Linked DNA regions of Homo sapiens: region 2 is linked to region 1. The links are contacts of gene promoters, found by promoter capture Hi-C in human tissues and cell types (Jung and others, 2019). All regions are on one chromosome and are shown on one strand. The core of a region is centred on a gene start or on the middle of the fragment in contact, and the rest is flanking DNA. Distances in the headings are between cores, read along the strand shown. Region 1 holds the start of SART1 (spliceosome associated factor 1, recruiter of U4/U6.U5 tri-snRNP). Region 2 has its middle 15 kb from the start of RNASEH2C.

The links. Contacts are between HindIII fragments. The study calls those that stand out against the background at their distance.
Region 2: a fragment that was not itself captured here is called in contact with the fragment with the promoter of SART1 in region 1 in 6 of the 25 tissues and cell types used here (IMR-90 fibroblasts, adrenal gland, aorta and 3 more).

The regions. Positions count from the first base shown.
Region 1 is chr11:65,958,137-65,965,647 of GRCh38, forward strand. It overlaps SART1 (spliceosome associated factor 1, recruiter of U4/U6.U5 tri-snRNP), which reads left to right and starts at 3,598. Exons shown (of 20, transcript NM_005146.5): 1 at 3,598-3,957; 2 at 5,938-5,995; 3 at 6,379-6,434; 4 at 6,956-7,082; 5 at 7,206-7,311. The coding sequence starts at 3,645. It overlaps TSGA10IP (testis specific 10 interacting protein), which reads left to right. Exons shown (of 8, transcript NM_152762.3): 6 at 747-846; 7 at 1,054-1,178; 8 at 1,681-1,830. The coding sequence ends at 1,804. RefSeq lists an enhancer at 3,456-4,243. The HindIII fragment of the contact is 22,503 bases long and covers 1-7,511 here.
Region 2 is chr11:65,732,420-65,739,930 of GRCh38, forward strand. No RefSeq gene overlaps it. Among named protein-coding and RNA genes, the nearest start is that of RNASEH2C, 15 kb to the left of the region's middle. The HindIII fragment of the contact is 9,114 bases long and covers 1-7,511 here.

The sequences.
Region 1 (7,511 bases), core at 2,348-4,847:
ATTTCACCATGTTGCCCAGTCTGGTCTCAAACTCTTGGGCTCAAGTGATCCACCCTCCTTGGCCTTCCAAAGTGCTGGGATTACAGGTGCGAGCCACCACGCCTGGCCAAATTGGGTTTTTATAAATGAAAATTGTGCTTCCCCAGTGGAACCCTGATCTCTCAGGGGTGTGTTTTTTAAATTTGAAACATATTTTTTTTTAGTTTCTCTGTCCCATTTTCCAAGCTGTCTGCTTACAAGAACCACAGAGAATGCTGGCAAGCTTGTCCGATCCCTACTATAGCACAGTGAAATAAACTGAGCCCAGAGCCAAGAGCCCAGAGAGAGGCCTCACCCAAAGTCACACAACCAACAACCACAGCTCCCCCTCAAGGGAAAGAGGATGGGGAGGGGAAGCTATGTAAGCACGTGTCTGGAAGCTCAGAAGCCAGCACTGGCCCCTTTCCCATGGGGCTGGCACAGGAGGATGGGCAAGCCCCAGCTGCACAGGGCTCGGCCCCTCACTTCCCAGCTGCACAACTTTGAACAAGTCCCTCAACCCTCCCGATCCATCCGTAAATTGGGTGAATAATTTCCACCTTGGCTGACTTCACAAGGAATCCAGGCAAGAATGGGAATGAAATAGCTTTGTAAAGGTGAGGGTGAGGACATGAATATCAAGTCCTTAGTGAAGATAAGCGGGCTCAGGAATGGAGATCAACAGTTGTGTCCATGGTTAGCTGCACAAAGGCCTGTCTCCCCTGCAGGCGCCAGGAGCGACAGCGCTTTGCTGAGTACCAGGCGGAGCTGCAAGGCATCCAGCACAGGGTGCAGGCCCGGCCCTTCCTGTTCCAGCAGGCTATGCAGGTGAGGCTGGCACCTGGGCAAGCACATAGCTGCCCCCTGTGAAGAGCTGGCTGAGTGGGTAGGGAAGCAGGATGCGAGTAGGTCCCTGCAGATAGGATCCCAGGGCTGCTGCCCTCTGGAATCCCTGGGACCCCCTCAGTAACCCGATCCCCACCTTGCCCTCGGCAGCCCTGGTGCAGAGCAGGAAGCCGTCTTCTCTCTCCTCAGGCCAATGCCCGGCTCACCGTCACTCGGCGCTTCTCCCAGGTGCTGTCAGCACTGGGGCTGGATGAGGAGCAGCTGCTGTCTGAGGCAGGAAAGGTGGACAGAGAGGGCACCCCCAGGAAACCCAGGTGAGTCTCCCCGTCAGGTCAAGAACTGACTCTGCCATGCTGCTGCGGGAAGGGGCGCCCACACCAGCACTCTGGGCTCTGGAGGGCCTCCCCCAGGACAGGCAGAGAGCCCAGAGGAAGGCAAGGCCAGGGTTGTCATTCCTACTTCTCAATGAGGAAACTAAGGACCTGAGGGGAAGGGCCTTCTTTAAGGACGCAGGAGCGAACAAGCAGCAGAACCAGTCTGGGACTCTGCAACCATCTGAGCGGCCACACACCAAGTCCCTCATTAGGGGCTGGCACCACCACGCTGGTCACCCCATGCCTTAGAATAACCTGGTACAGAGCAGCGATTATGAAGCCCACTTGACAATAAGGAAAGTGAGACTCGAGAAGAGTCACTTTGCCCAGGATCACACAGCAAGCCGGCACTGAAGCAGGGTTTGAAGCCACATTGTCAGTGGTTTCCTTGGGCATGGGGGTGGGAGCTGCAGAGTCAGGGGCCTCTATCTGTGTCTTGAAGGAGCCACAGGTCAATGGGGGTGAGAATGGAGCACTCTCCTCAGAGGCCCCCAAGGACAGAACCCACCGGCAGCCAGCCTGACAGGCACTACAACCCCAGCCTGGACCCGGAGTGCAGTCCCTGAGATAAAATTAAAGGCTTTATGGCAAACACAGTATGAGATTTCTGGTGGTGGGGGTGGTGGAAGCTACGGGTTGGAAGTTGGAGGTGGCAGGTGGGTGGGCAGCAGGCTTAGCTCTGTCCCCGCACCCCCTCCCCACCAGGAGCTTTGGCTCTTTTGGTTCCCCCCACCCAGTACACACAGCCCCTTCTCTGCTCCTGAGGAGTGGGGACATCTCAAAGAGCAAGAGCTGTGACTTCTCCACCCCATCTCCAATGTATATGTTGGGTCCTATAAATTCAAGCATGAATAAGATGAAATGACTCCTGCCTCTGAGGACGCCCAGTGAGTGGGAGAGGGGGTGGATCCTTAAAGGGGCGCATACAACATAGCCTAACACATGCTGAGTTGTGCCACACAGGGAGCCACAGACTGAGCAACCACTGGGTGAGGGGAGGGGTTTCAGGAGAGATTGGGATTGTGTGCACTGCGCTTTTTTTTTTTTTTTTTAAGACAGAGTCTCGCTCTGTCACCAGGCCGGAGTGCAATGGTGTGATCTCAACTCACTGCAACCTCTGCCTCCCAGGTTCAAGCGATTCTCCTGCCTCAGCCTCCTGAGTAGCTGGGACTACAGGTGTGCGCCACCACACCCAGCTAATTTTTGTATTTTTAGTAGAGACGGGGTTTTACCATGTAGGCCAGGATGGTCTCGATCTCTTGACCTCGTGATTCGCCTGCCTTGGCCTCCCAAAGTGCTGGGATTACAGGCGTGAGCCACCGCGCCCGGCCTGCACTGGGGTTTTAAGTCCCAATAGTTTTAAGTTAGGGCTGGTCTCCTCAAGAAAAAAACTCATACACACAGATGTGCCACATTTTGCATTCAATTTCAGGGGTTCCAGGGATACACTGACGCCCATGTGGAGCTCCTAAACAATCTTAACAGTTCACGGGGCCAGGTTTTAAAAATCCAATCCAGGGCCAGGCGCAGTGGCGCATGCCTGTAATCTCAGCACTTTGGGAGGCCAAGGCGGGTGTATAGCCTGAGCTCAGGAGTTCGAGACCAGCCTGGCCAACATAGTGACCCCACCCCCTACCCCCGCTCCCCACCAACCATCTACAAAAAAATACAAAAATTAAAGGGGCGTGGTAGCGTACTCTCGTAGTCCCAGCTACTGGGAAGGCTGAGGTGGGAGGATCACTTGAGCCCAGGAGGTCGAGGCTGCAGTGCGCTGTGATCACGCCACTGCACTCCAGCCTGAGCAACAGAGTGAGATCCTATCTCAAGGGAAAAAACAAAACAAAACAAAACAGGGAACGTGGGAAGGAAGCGTTCCCTGACGATACTGGTTATAGCGGGTCTGAAGCTGGGCTGTGGAATTGGAGATCTCGGGAAAACAACACCCGTTGGAGCCACGACCCTAGGAGTCCACTAAGCGAGCGCCCATTGTAGGAGGGAGGTGTCTACGGAAAGACCGTGAGGTAGTGAACACCCCGTTGCCGGTGAAGTGCAAGCGCAGGGAGGCCGGGGAGGAACTTAAAGCCACGAAGACACTGACTTAATGGGCTCTAAGTCCTTCCAGTTCTGGGATCCCACCTCCGGGTTAATTCCGCTTCCCTTGAGGAGCGCATGCGCAATGGGACCACTCGCTCAAAGAACCCACCCGACCCGAGACGGCGCGAATGTGCAGTCGAGCGCTGATCCCGGCCTTCCCATGAGCCTCTGGGGCAGGCTCCAAGGCGAGCGACGGAAGCAGCCGCTCTTAGTTTCCGGCAACACGACAGCGGCTGCCGAGCGACCCGGAAGTATTCCCATTTTGCGTTGTCTGGGCTCGGCGGCAGCCGGGCTCGGAGTGGACGTGCCACTATGGGGTCGTCCAAGAAGCATCGCGGAGAGAAGGAGGCGGCCGGGACGACGGCGGCGGCCGGCACCGGGGGTGCCACCGAGCAGCCGCCGCGGCACCGGGAACACAAAAAACACAAGCACCGGAGTGGCGGCAGTGGCGGTAGCGGTGGCGAACGACGGAAGCGGAGCCGGGAACGTGGGGGCGAGCGCGGGAGCGGGCGGCGCGGGGCCGAAGCTGAGGCCCGGAGCAGCACGCACGGGCGGGAGCGCAGCCAGGCAGAGCCCTCCGAGCGGCGCGTGAAGCGGGAGAAGCGCGATGACGGCTACGAGGCCGGTGAGGAGGCGGGGCCTGCGCAGGGGGCGGGTCGGGCGGGGGTCCCGGAACGCGTGGGTCTGGGTGTGCGCGCAGTGTCAGCGAAGCTCTTCAGGCCAGGAAACCCCCAAGCTGTTTACCAGCTCTATTAAATAGTCTTTCTACGGGATCCCTTGAGCCCAGGAGTTAGAGGCTGCAGTGAGCTGCGGTCCCGCCAGTGTACTCCAGCCTGGGCAACAAAGCGAGACTCTGTCTCAAAAAGAAAAAAGTCTTTCTACGGTTGTTTAGGATTAGAGGTTGACTTTCTCCACTCAGCTGCTTGAGGACAGAGGGCTTCTGTTTTCCTCAGTTGTCTGGTACAATCAGATTCTCAATAAATATGTTGAATGAGTGAATGAAGTAGTGTCAGCATATACAGAGGCAAGAAAAACCTGGTATTGGACGAATCGTGTAGGGCGCATGGTAGAGAAATGAGGGAGTAAGATAGACAGGGATGTGAACACAAAGGACCCTGTACTGTAGTCTCTGTTAAGAACTGTAGATTGTCTTGAGGATAGTAGGGAGCCATGGATGTGAGTTGAGGAGTGAGTTGCTCAGATCCGTATTTTGTAAACATCACTGGATTGAGAATTTAGTCAAAGGTAGTCAGGACTGGAGACCAGGAAACCAGGAGGGCTATAGGCCAGGGGAGGGCTGATGGTGGCCTGCACCAAGGCAGCAGCAGTGGGATTGAGAGAAGTGGACAGGTTGGAGAGGTGTTTTGGAGGAGGAATGAACAGAACTCAGCACTTGTATGAGGGTGGGAAGAAGGAATGGAGGATGACTCCTTGAATTTTGGCTTGAGCAGCCAGATAGGTAGTGGGTGTCATTTCTACTGAAATTGAGGAGTAGGGAAGAGAAGCAGATTTGGAGCGGGGGTGGGGGGAGATAGTTCACTTTTGGGGTTGTCAAGGTTGATGGTAATGGGGAAATCCAGAGTTTGGACTGGATAAAGCCATTGGGAGTCAGTATCTGGGTGGCCAGTGAAGCCCCTGAAAGACTGTGACATGAGAAGAGGGGGTCAGGACTAGAACCTGAGAAATGCCCTTATGTTAGTAGTAGGCAGAGAAAGATGTTACCAAAAAAAGGAGACAGAGTAACCAAAAAGGCAGGAAAACCTTTGTGTCATGGGAACTTTGGGAAGAGAGTATTGTTAGAAGGAGGGAGCGATCAGCAGTCCCACATACCACAGGAGATCAAGCAAAACCAGAACCGAAAAGAACCCACTAGATTTAGAAACGAGGAGGCTGGTGACCTTGGGGAGCCTGGAGAGGTTGGGATCCATGGCCCAGGTGGAGAGAGAAGCCTTTAAGATAAAGGAGAAGGTAGGATGCAGGATGGGAATGCAGGAAAGGAAGAGTTTTTTTTTTGTTTTGTTTTGTTTTTTTGAGACAAAGTCTTGCTCCATTGCCCAGGCTAGAGTGCAGTGGCACGATCTCAGCTCACTGCAAGCTCTGCCTCCTGGGTTCAAGCAATTCTCCTACCTCAGCCTCCCGAGTATCTGGGATTACAGGTGCGCACCACCGTGCCTGGCTAATTTTTATATTTTTAGTAGAGACGGGGTTTCACCATCTTGGCCAGGCTGGTCTTGAACTTCTGACCTCGTGATCCATCTGCCTCGGCCTCCCAAAGTGCTGGGATTACAGGCATGACCCACCATACCCGGCCCAGACCTTGTCTGTTAAAAATGAAAGAAAAAAGTAGAGGGCAGAGTGGTGACTACAGCAGTTTGGATGTCTTGGGTCAGGAAAGGAAGGTGCACAGAAGAGGCAGGGCTCTGAGACTGGACTCGGGCAGAGGAGCTGCTGGGGAGCTTGGGTGGAAGAAGCTGCTGTTTTCTGGTGTTTCAGCAGGCCCAGGTGCTGGTGAGGGGCCCTCATTTTTGTTCCTGCAGCTGGAGCCAACGATGCTGGCTTCTTGGCCCTGTGTTCAGCTCCTGAGCCATGCTTCTTCTTGTTCCAGCTGCCAGCTCCAAAACTAGCTCAGGCGATGCCTCCTCACTCAGCATCGAGGAGACTAAGTGAGTACTGTCTCCCTTGTTTCTACTTTGTTTTTCTAAGAGAGGTGGCTCTGGGGCCAGCACGGGGGAGGCTTTCTCACATGAAAGTGTGCTAATCAGAGTTGGAAAGATTGTTTAAATCATCTTAGCCAACAGTTGACTTATAGAAGAGAAAACTAAAACCTAAGAGTAAAGTGGCATTCACTGGTTAGACGCAGACCAGGCTGGTGCCCATGTTTCCTGCTTTGGAGGCCAGGGCCCTTCCCAGTGTCCTAGGCTGCCTGGGGCAGACTTTGTGTTTGGGACCACTCACTCCCACCCTGTTTCTCCTCTTGTCTGTCTGGAAATGCACATGGCACCCTGTGTCTTTAATAGCCCCTAACACTTGTATCTCTTGTTGTCAGCAAACTCCGGGCAAAGTTGGGGCTGAAACCCTTGGAGGTTAATGCCATCAAGAAGGGTGAGTATGGGGCTGAGGATAGGGTTTGGGGGAAAGAGGCCATCTGAAGGGGTCTTTGAAGAAGGTGGGGTTAGAGGGCAGGTTCAGCACTGTTTAGTGGTCTTACACATGCATATTTGCCGGAAGGCATGAGGTCCCTCCTTGCTGGTATAATGGGGATCTGGGGCTCCGCCTGCTCTCTGAGTTGGAGCTGTGGCCGTCGCATACTCACTCTGGCTGTGAGTTGTTAGATGGACTGGAAGATGTGCACACTTGCTGCAGACTGCGCTGTGCGGGGGTGGGTTTCTTGTTTTTCTTTAAAGCACGATTTGAGGGGCTTTGGAAGCCACAGAGGGTCCTGTTGTGCTGCATGGGTTGGCCAGGAGTGTGGGGACGAAGTGGGAGCAGGGAGGTGAAGGATTGTTCCTTCCTGTCCTGACCCCTTCTGGCCCCCTGAGCTGGAAGGGGGCAGGGTGAGTGGCTCCCTCCTCTCCCCACCAGCCATGGGCGGGCATAGCCTCACGTCTGGGCCCCCCTTCCAGAGGCGGGCACCAAGGAGGAGCCCGTGACAGCTGATGTCATCAACCCTATGGCCTTGCGACAGCGAGAGGAGCTGCGGGAGAAGCTGGCGGCTGCCAAGGAGAAGCGCCTGCTGAACCAAAAGCTGGGGTGAGGGGTCCTGGCCAGGGCAGGCAAGGGAAGGGCTGGGGAGGCCACCATCCTTGGCTGCCTCTTGAGTGGGGTGGGGAGCAGGAGCTGGGCTCCTTGAGCATCACTTTTTCCCCTCTTCAGGAAGATAAAGACCCTAGGAGAGGATGACCCCTGGCTGGACGACACTGCAGCCTGGATCGAGAGGAGCCGGCAGCTGCAGAAGGAGAAGGACCTGGCAGAGAAGAGGGTGAGCACCTGGGCAGCATGGGGTGGTCGCCTAGTGCTTCTGGTGGCCTGACGGCACTGAGGCGGGGGCCAACCCCAGAGAGGTGAGACGGGGCTTGGAGAAGGGAAGGGCCGTGGTCGGTAGCATCTACTTTGGATTCTCAGCAGCTTTCCTGCAAGGCCTGCCCTTTTTGCACTCCGCTTGGTAGAGCCCTGAGTGTT
Region 2 (7,511 bases), core at 2,812-5,311, 230 kb before region 1:
GAGATCGTGCCGCTGCACTCCAGCCTGGGTAACAGAGTGAAACTCCATCTCAAAAAAAAAAAAAAAAAGAAATGGAAGGAAACACATATAAATGCAAAGATATCCCATGTTCATGGATTGGAATAATTAGTATTGTTAAAATGTCCATAGTAACCAAACTACCCAAATCCACAGAATCAATGCAATCCTTATCAAAATTCCAAAGTCTTTTTTTATAAAAAAGAAAAAACAATCCTCAAGTCCACATGGAACCACAAAAGACCCCAAACAGTCAAAGCAATCCTGAGCAAAATAACAAATCTGGAGGCATCATACTCCCTGATTTCAAAATATATTATAAAGTTACTGTAATCAAAATAGCATGGTACTGCCATTAAAAAAAAGATATATCAACACATGGAACAGGATATAATGCCCCCAAAATAAACCCATACATTTATGGCAAATTGATTTTTGACAAAGATGCCAAGAATATACAATTTGAAAAGGATACTCTCTTTAATAAATGGTATTGAGAATGCAGAAGATGAAACTAGACTCTTATCTTACACTATATACAAAAATCAACTCAAAATGGATTAAAGACTTAAATATAAAACAAACTGTAAAACTACTAGAAAAAACATAGAGGAAAAGATCTATGACATTGGTCTGAGCAATGAATTTTTGAAAATGACCCTGAAAGCACAGGCAACAAAAGCAAAAATAGACAAATGGGATGATATCAAACTAAAAAGCCTCTGGGCAGCAAAGGAATCAATTAACAGAGTGGAGACAAAAACAGAATGGGAGAAAATATTTGCAAACCATATATCTGATAAGCAGTTAATATCCAAAATATATAACTCAAACAACTCAATGGCAAGAAAACAAATAACCCAGTGAATTAATGGGCAAAGGACCTGAACAGACATTTCTCAAAATACATATGAATGGCCAAAGGTATATGAAAAAATGCTCAACGTGACTAATCATTAGGGAAATGCAAACCACAATGAGATATCACCTCACATGTGTTAGAATGGCTATTATTAAAAAGATGAGGCTGGGCATGGTGGCTCATGCCTATAATCCTAGCATTCTGGGAGGCCAAGGCAAGCAGATCACCTGAGGTCAGGAGTTCTAGACCAGCCTGACCAACATGGTGAAAACCCATCTCTACTAAAAATTAAAAAAAAAAAAAATTAGCCTGGCATGGTGATGCACACCTGTAGTCCCAGCTACTTGGGAGGCTAATGCAGGAGAATCACTTGAACCCGGGAGGCGGAGGTTGAAGTGAGCGGAGATCTCACTACTGCACTCCAGCCTGGGCGACAGGGTGAAACTGCTTCTCAAAAAAACAAACAAATAAATAAAAATAAGAAAATAAGAAAATAAAAAGATGAAAGAAAAAGTGTTGGCGAGGATGTGGAGAGAAGGGCACTCTTGTACACTGTTGGTAGAAATGTAAATTAGTGCAGCCCTTATATAAAAGAGTATGAAGGTTCCTAAAAAACTCAAAATAGAACTACCATATGATCCAGCAATCCCATTGTTGGGTATATATTTAAAGGAACTGAAATGAATATGTTGAAGAGACATCTACAATCTCATATTCATCACAGCATTATTCACAATAGCCAAGATATGGAATCAACCTATGTGTCCACTGGTGGATGAAAGAATAAGGAAAGTGTGGTGTATATAAAAAACAGAATACTATTCAGCCTTTTTTTTTTTTTCGTAAAAAGGGAATTCTGGCTGGACGCGGTGGCTCATGCCTATAATCCCAGCACTTTGGGAAGCCGAGGTGGGCGGATCACTTGAGGTCAGGAGTTTGAGACCAGCCTGGCCAACTTGGTGAAACTCTGTCTGTACTAAAAATACAAAAATTAGCTGGGCATGGTGGTGCGCACCTGTAATCCCAGCTACTCAGGAGGTTGAGGCACGAGAATCACTTGAACCAGGAGGTAGACGTTGCAGTGAGCCAAGACCATACCACTGCACTCCAGCTTGGGAGGCAGAGTGAAACTGCGTCAAAAAAAAAAAAAAAAAAAAGGAAATTCTATTATTTGCCACAACAGGGATTAACCTGGAGAACATTATGTTCAGTGAAATAAGCCAGGCACAGAGAGACAAATACCACATGATCTCACTTATATGCAAGATCTAAAACTGTCCACCTCATAGCCAGCTGCAGTGGCTCATGCCTGTAATCCCAGTGCTTTGGGAGGCTAACATGAGAGGATTTCTTTTTCTTTTTTTTTTTTTTGAGATGGAGTCTTGCTCTGTTGCCAGGCTGGAGTGCAGTGGCGTGATCTTGGCTCACTGCAACCTCCACCTCCTGGGTTCAAGCGAGTCTCCTGCCTCAGTTTCCTGAGTAGCTGGGACTATAGGCACGTGCCACCACACCCAGCTAATTTTTGTATTTTTAATAGAGACGGGGTTTCACCATGTTGGCCAGGATGGTCTCAATCTCTTGACCTCATGATCCACCCACCTTGGCCTCCCAAAGTGCTGGGATTATAGGTGTGAGCCACTGCACCCAGCTGTGAGAGGATTTCTTGAGGCCAATAGTTTCAGACCAGCCTGGGCAACATAGTGAGACCCCATCTCTACCCCCCCAAAAAAAATTAGTCAGGTGTGGTGATGCACACCTGTAGCTCCAGCTACTGGAGAGGCTGATGCAGGAGGATCACTTGAGCCCAGGAGTTCAAGACTACAGTGAGCCATGATTGTGCCACTACACTCCAGCCTGGGTGGCAGAGTAAGACCCCATCTCTAATACAATACAGTAATATAAAAATGTTGTAGAATGCAAAGTATTGTTCCTGGGTGTGTCTGTGAGGGTGTTGCCAAAGGAGATTAACATTTGAGTCAGTGGACTGGGAGAAGCAGACCCACCCTTAGTCTGGCGTGGCACCATCTAATCAGCTGCCAGCACAGCTAGATTAAAACAGGCAGAAGAACATGGAAGGACTTGACTTGCTGAGCCTTCCGGCTTTCATCTTTCTCCCTTGCTGGATGTTTCCTGCCCTCGAACATCAGACTCCAAGTTCTTCAGCTTTTGGACTCTTGGACTTACACCAGTGGTTTGCAGCTCTCGGGCCTTTGTTCACAGACTGAAGGCTGCACTGTTGGCTTCCCTACTTTTGAGGTTTTGGGTCTTGGACTGGCTTCCCTGATCCTCAGCTTGCAGACAGCCTATTGTGGGACTTCACCTTGTGATCATGTGAATCATTACTCCTCAATAAACTCCCCTTCATATATACATCTATCCTATTAGTTCTGTCCCTTTAGAGAACTCTAATATACCTGTCTAACTGAAACTTTGTACCTTTTGAGCAATATCTTCCCATTTCCCACTCTCCCATGCCCCTAGCCTCTGGTAATCTCTGGATACCTGATCTAAGGGGTCCAACAGGATATTTTCATTTTTCAGGTCATAAGATGGGATGGGTTGAAACCTTGTGCCAGCATCATCTTTATGTGGAATCTAGAAGACATAAACTTAAGTAGGAGGTCAACAGGAAAATTATAATTTGGAGGATGAGAAAATTAATGCATCTATGCCCATGGCATCATGTTTTTTATCTTTGTGTTTGTGAAACAACAGCTTTAAGTCTTATAGGAGCTCACAGGTGTAAATCATGGTGTCCTCCTCTTATGCCGTCAGGGATTCATAAGAAACAGATTTAATCTTGGACAGGTGTACCCAACTAGTGATTCCCTGAAGTTTAACAGCAGGGAAGGTACTTAACAATACCTGATAGGGGCTCTTCCATTTGGGTTGTAATTGATCCTCTGGGGATCCTTTTTAACAAAAAGTTTTTTGTAAGACTAGGTGTTCAGGTTGAACAGAGGAGCTATTTCTTTCCTATGTGGGAAAGGGAAGTACTTTGTTATTATAATTTTTGAAGGGCCTTTGTGCCTAGCCTAAATTCTAAGGGGTGGCACAGTGAGGCATGTTTGGCCCCCTGTTTCCTGTCATGGTCTGACTTCTTTTTTTTTGAAGGCTTCTTTGGAATTCCCTTTGGCTAAGGGACTTAGAGTCAAAAGACTTATAGCCAATTAAACATCCTAGGTCAGAAGGAAATGGAGGTGAGCAGGCACTCATTTGCCCTTAAAATCTTTTAAAGCAATATAAGAGTCAAAAACTAAATGCCAATAATAAGGTTATATGTAAAAAAAAAAAAAAAACAGCATAGAATCAAGCTATATTCGGGGAAAACACTGTTTTCGCAGACCTCTAAGACAAAACATTTTAGTACCAGGGCCCAATAGTCAGAACCAGAGGAAAAAAAGTCACAATGTTGATGAAAAGGTTGATGGAAAGAGCCATCATCCCAGGCCTTCTTAAAGGGAGAAAGAATTGAAAGTAGTGAGACACAACAACAGTTGAATCTCTGAGACATGAATCCAAGACATTTTAAAATAAACCAGGTAGATTATTAAAAGCAAAACTTCCTGTAATTTAGCAAATCAATACCTTAAGAAAACCTGTTGCCAATATATAGACCATTCTCTAGAAAGTCTACCACAGTTTTCCTTTAGTCATAGTCAGCTTAAGCTTAATCATACACAAAATTCCCCTTCACAAACCCCATCATGACCCACATGGACCATCTACAACATGCTTGGACTTTCTGACTTGTCCTATAGGACCCCTTCCTTAAAGAACTCATCATTTTACTCTAGGATAAGAATTTACTACACAAGATCCCTCCTCATATAAAATAACTTTGTATTCTTCCTTGTATCCTTCTTTATATCCTTCCTTGTATCCTTCTTTGTATTCTTCCTTGCAAAAAGTACATCTATCCATAACTTTCTTCATATCTCTCTTTTCTACTTACTGGTTCCTTCATATTTTGAACCTCTCTTTTAATAACTTCCAAATTAGACAAAAATTATTATTTTTCCCAATAAAAAACACACTTTCTTTGGCTTATTTTATATAAATCTAAAGAGCAAGAAATTCTGAACTGCTCATCAGACATTGGCACTCTATAGATGAGAACTATTTCACAGCTTTAAGATTTTCAACTATACATAAGCTCACTGTTTAAAAGCCATCCTAACCATTCTAAAGGCTACAAACATCAGAGGTTCATCTAGGTAAAAATCTTAAAGTTAAATTTTAGAAGACATAACATTCCCTTCAAACTAATAAATTTAGACTAGTCTTATTTTTTAATTTATGAATTCTCTTTTATTTATAAGCCAATTTGATAGTATGCTAAACACAACACCCATCACACAAATGAAGTGACCTACACAAGACAGATGGATCCAAGTTACTTATAAAATTGGGACCTGTCTATCTCAATACATTTTGTTTGCCCAGATACGTAGGGAAGACAGGAAGAGGCAGAGAAGGGACCCCATAGCATCAAATAAGGAAGGGAGGTGGTAAACCATGTTGCTCAAGGGGAGGTCTCAGAGTCCTTGAGCTACCAGAGCATCTAGCAGTGGAGACACCAAAGAAAAATGTTCTGGTGGCCACTTGTCTTCCACTGCAAAAAGCTGTCCATTGGGTCAAGGGTCCAGGAATCTGAGTAAATTTACTTGAGCAAGGTGGCTCATTGGGACATATGGAAGAAGGTTAGTTCTAATATTGACGGGGAGCTTTTTCCCTCGTTTGCTGGGGATGGTTAGGACATTCTCATTGTGAATGGTCCTTTTGCTTATAGTAGGCACATTGATTCTGGACCAGGAGCCAGTGAGTTGGGGGCTCTCATCTGGGCATCCCAGATGGTGATCTTGTGACACTTTCTCAGGATAGGTAATTCTAAGGTGGCAGGGGACTTAAAGTAACAGCTAACAATTGCACTTTTTGGCTATTTCTTTTCTTTTTTGAGACAGGGTCTCACTCCAGTTGCCCAGGCTGGAGTTGCAGTGCATTATCTCAGCTTACTGCAGCCTCAACCTCCTGGGCTCAGGTGATTCTCCCACCTCAGCCTCCTCAGTATCTAGGACCACAGGCATACACCACCATGCACAGCGAATTTTTTGTATTTTTAGTAGAGACAGAGTTTCATCATGTTGCCTGGGCTAGAGCTGTTTCTTTTGTCTTTTTTTTTTCAACTCTTTTTCCCTGTCCCTATTGTTGTAAATTTTAAAGGCCAAGTTTAAATATTGGCTCATAGGGGTTTGAGCTTCCATTGTTGCTTTTTGTAGCTTCCTCCTAATGTCAGGGGCAACTTGAGTAATAAAATGCATAACCAGAAGAGTTTGCCTTCTGGGAAGTCTGGGTCTGCGTTAGTGTATTTCCTGAGTGCCTCAACCAAACAACTTTGAAACAGAGTGGGATTTTCATCTTTTCCCTGAGTTATTTCTCTAACTTTGTCATAATTGGCTGGCTTAACTACACACTTTTTCCTCCACTTTTTTTTCCGGCATGGCACAGCAGGGAGACAACAATACTTGCAAGTCACGGCAAGTTAAATTTAAAAAATTGTCAACCAATTCTTCTATAAACTTTTCTAGATTTTCTGAAAACTGGCCAAATTTTTTGCATAAAGCCAAATCTGACATAGAAAATGGAACATGTATTCTAAGTATCACCCCATTTCCATCGGTTACCTCCTACAATGGACACAAGTTTTATTTTGGAGGCTAATATGGGGCCCCACTCCTGGTGGTACTGGTTGGGCTTACTACCTTGGGAAGTGAGGAATATGGGCTGGGGCTAGTTGGATAAGGGTGCCTGATAAACTTGGGGTGGACTTCCTCAGAACTGGGGGACTGAGGAGACTCCAGGAAAGATGTAGGCCTTCTAGTGGGAACAGCTAGGAGGGAAACCCTTAGGCATGGCTTCCGGGTTCCTGGGAGTAATATGAGCCAATAAAGGACCATAAAAGCCTGTACATAAAGGACCTCCTCCCATTTTCCTTATTTTATATAGAATAAGTCCAATTGTAAAATAGCGTCACAATATATAGAACCAAATCTATATATTAGGCCAAATCTCTTGGTTTTCTAATTTGTTTTGGACCCAAGTGGTGCTACAATAGAAAATGAGTTTCTTTTTCTTTAGGTTGAATTTGAATTTGCTCCAACAGCCTAAAAGACACCCTAGTGGTAAGTCTTCTGGGATGTTCATCATTGTCTCCATGTCTAACAAGGATTTATACTGGACATAGAAGTTTTTCTTTTCTTTTTCTTTTTTCTTTTTTTTTTTTTTTTGAGATGGAGTTTCGCTCTTGTTGCCCAGGCTGTAGTGCAATGGCACAATCTTGGCTCACTGCCACCTCCGTTTCCCGGATTCAAGCAGTTCTCCTGCCTCAGCCTCCTGAGTAGCTGGGATTACAGGCGTGCACCACCACGCCTGGCTAATTTTGTATTTTTTTACTAGAGATGGAATTTCACCATGTTGGTCAGGCTGGTCTCGAACTCCTGACCTCAAGTAATCCACCCGCCTTGGCCTCCCAAAGTGTTGGGATTACAGGCGTGAGCCACTGCGCCTGGCCAGAGGTTTTTCTAAGTCTAGTGAGAGGGAAAACAACTGGGCTCTCATTATTTTTCCCTTT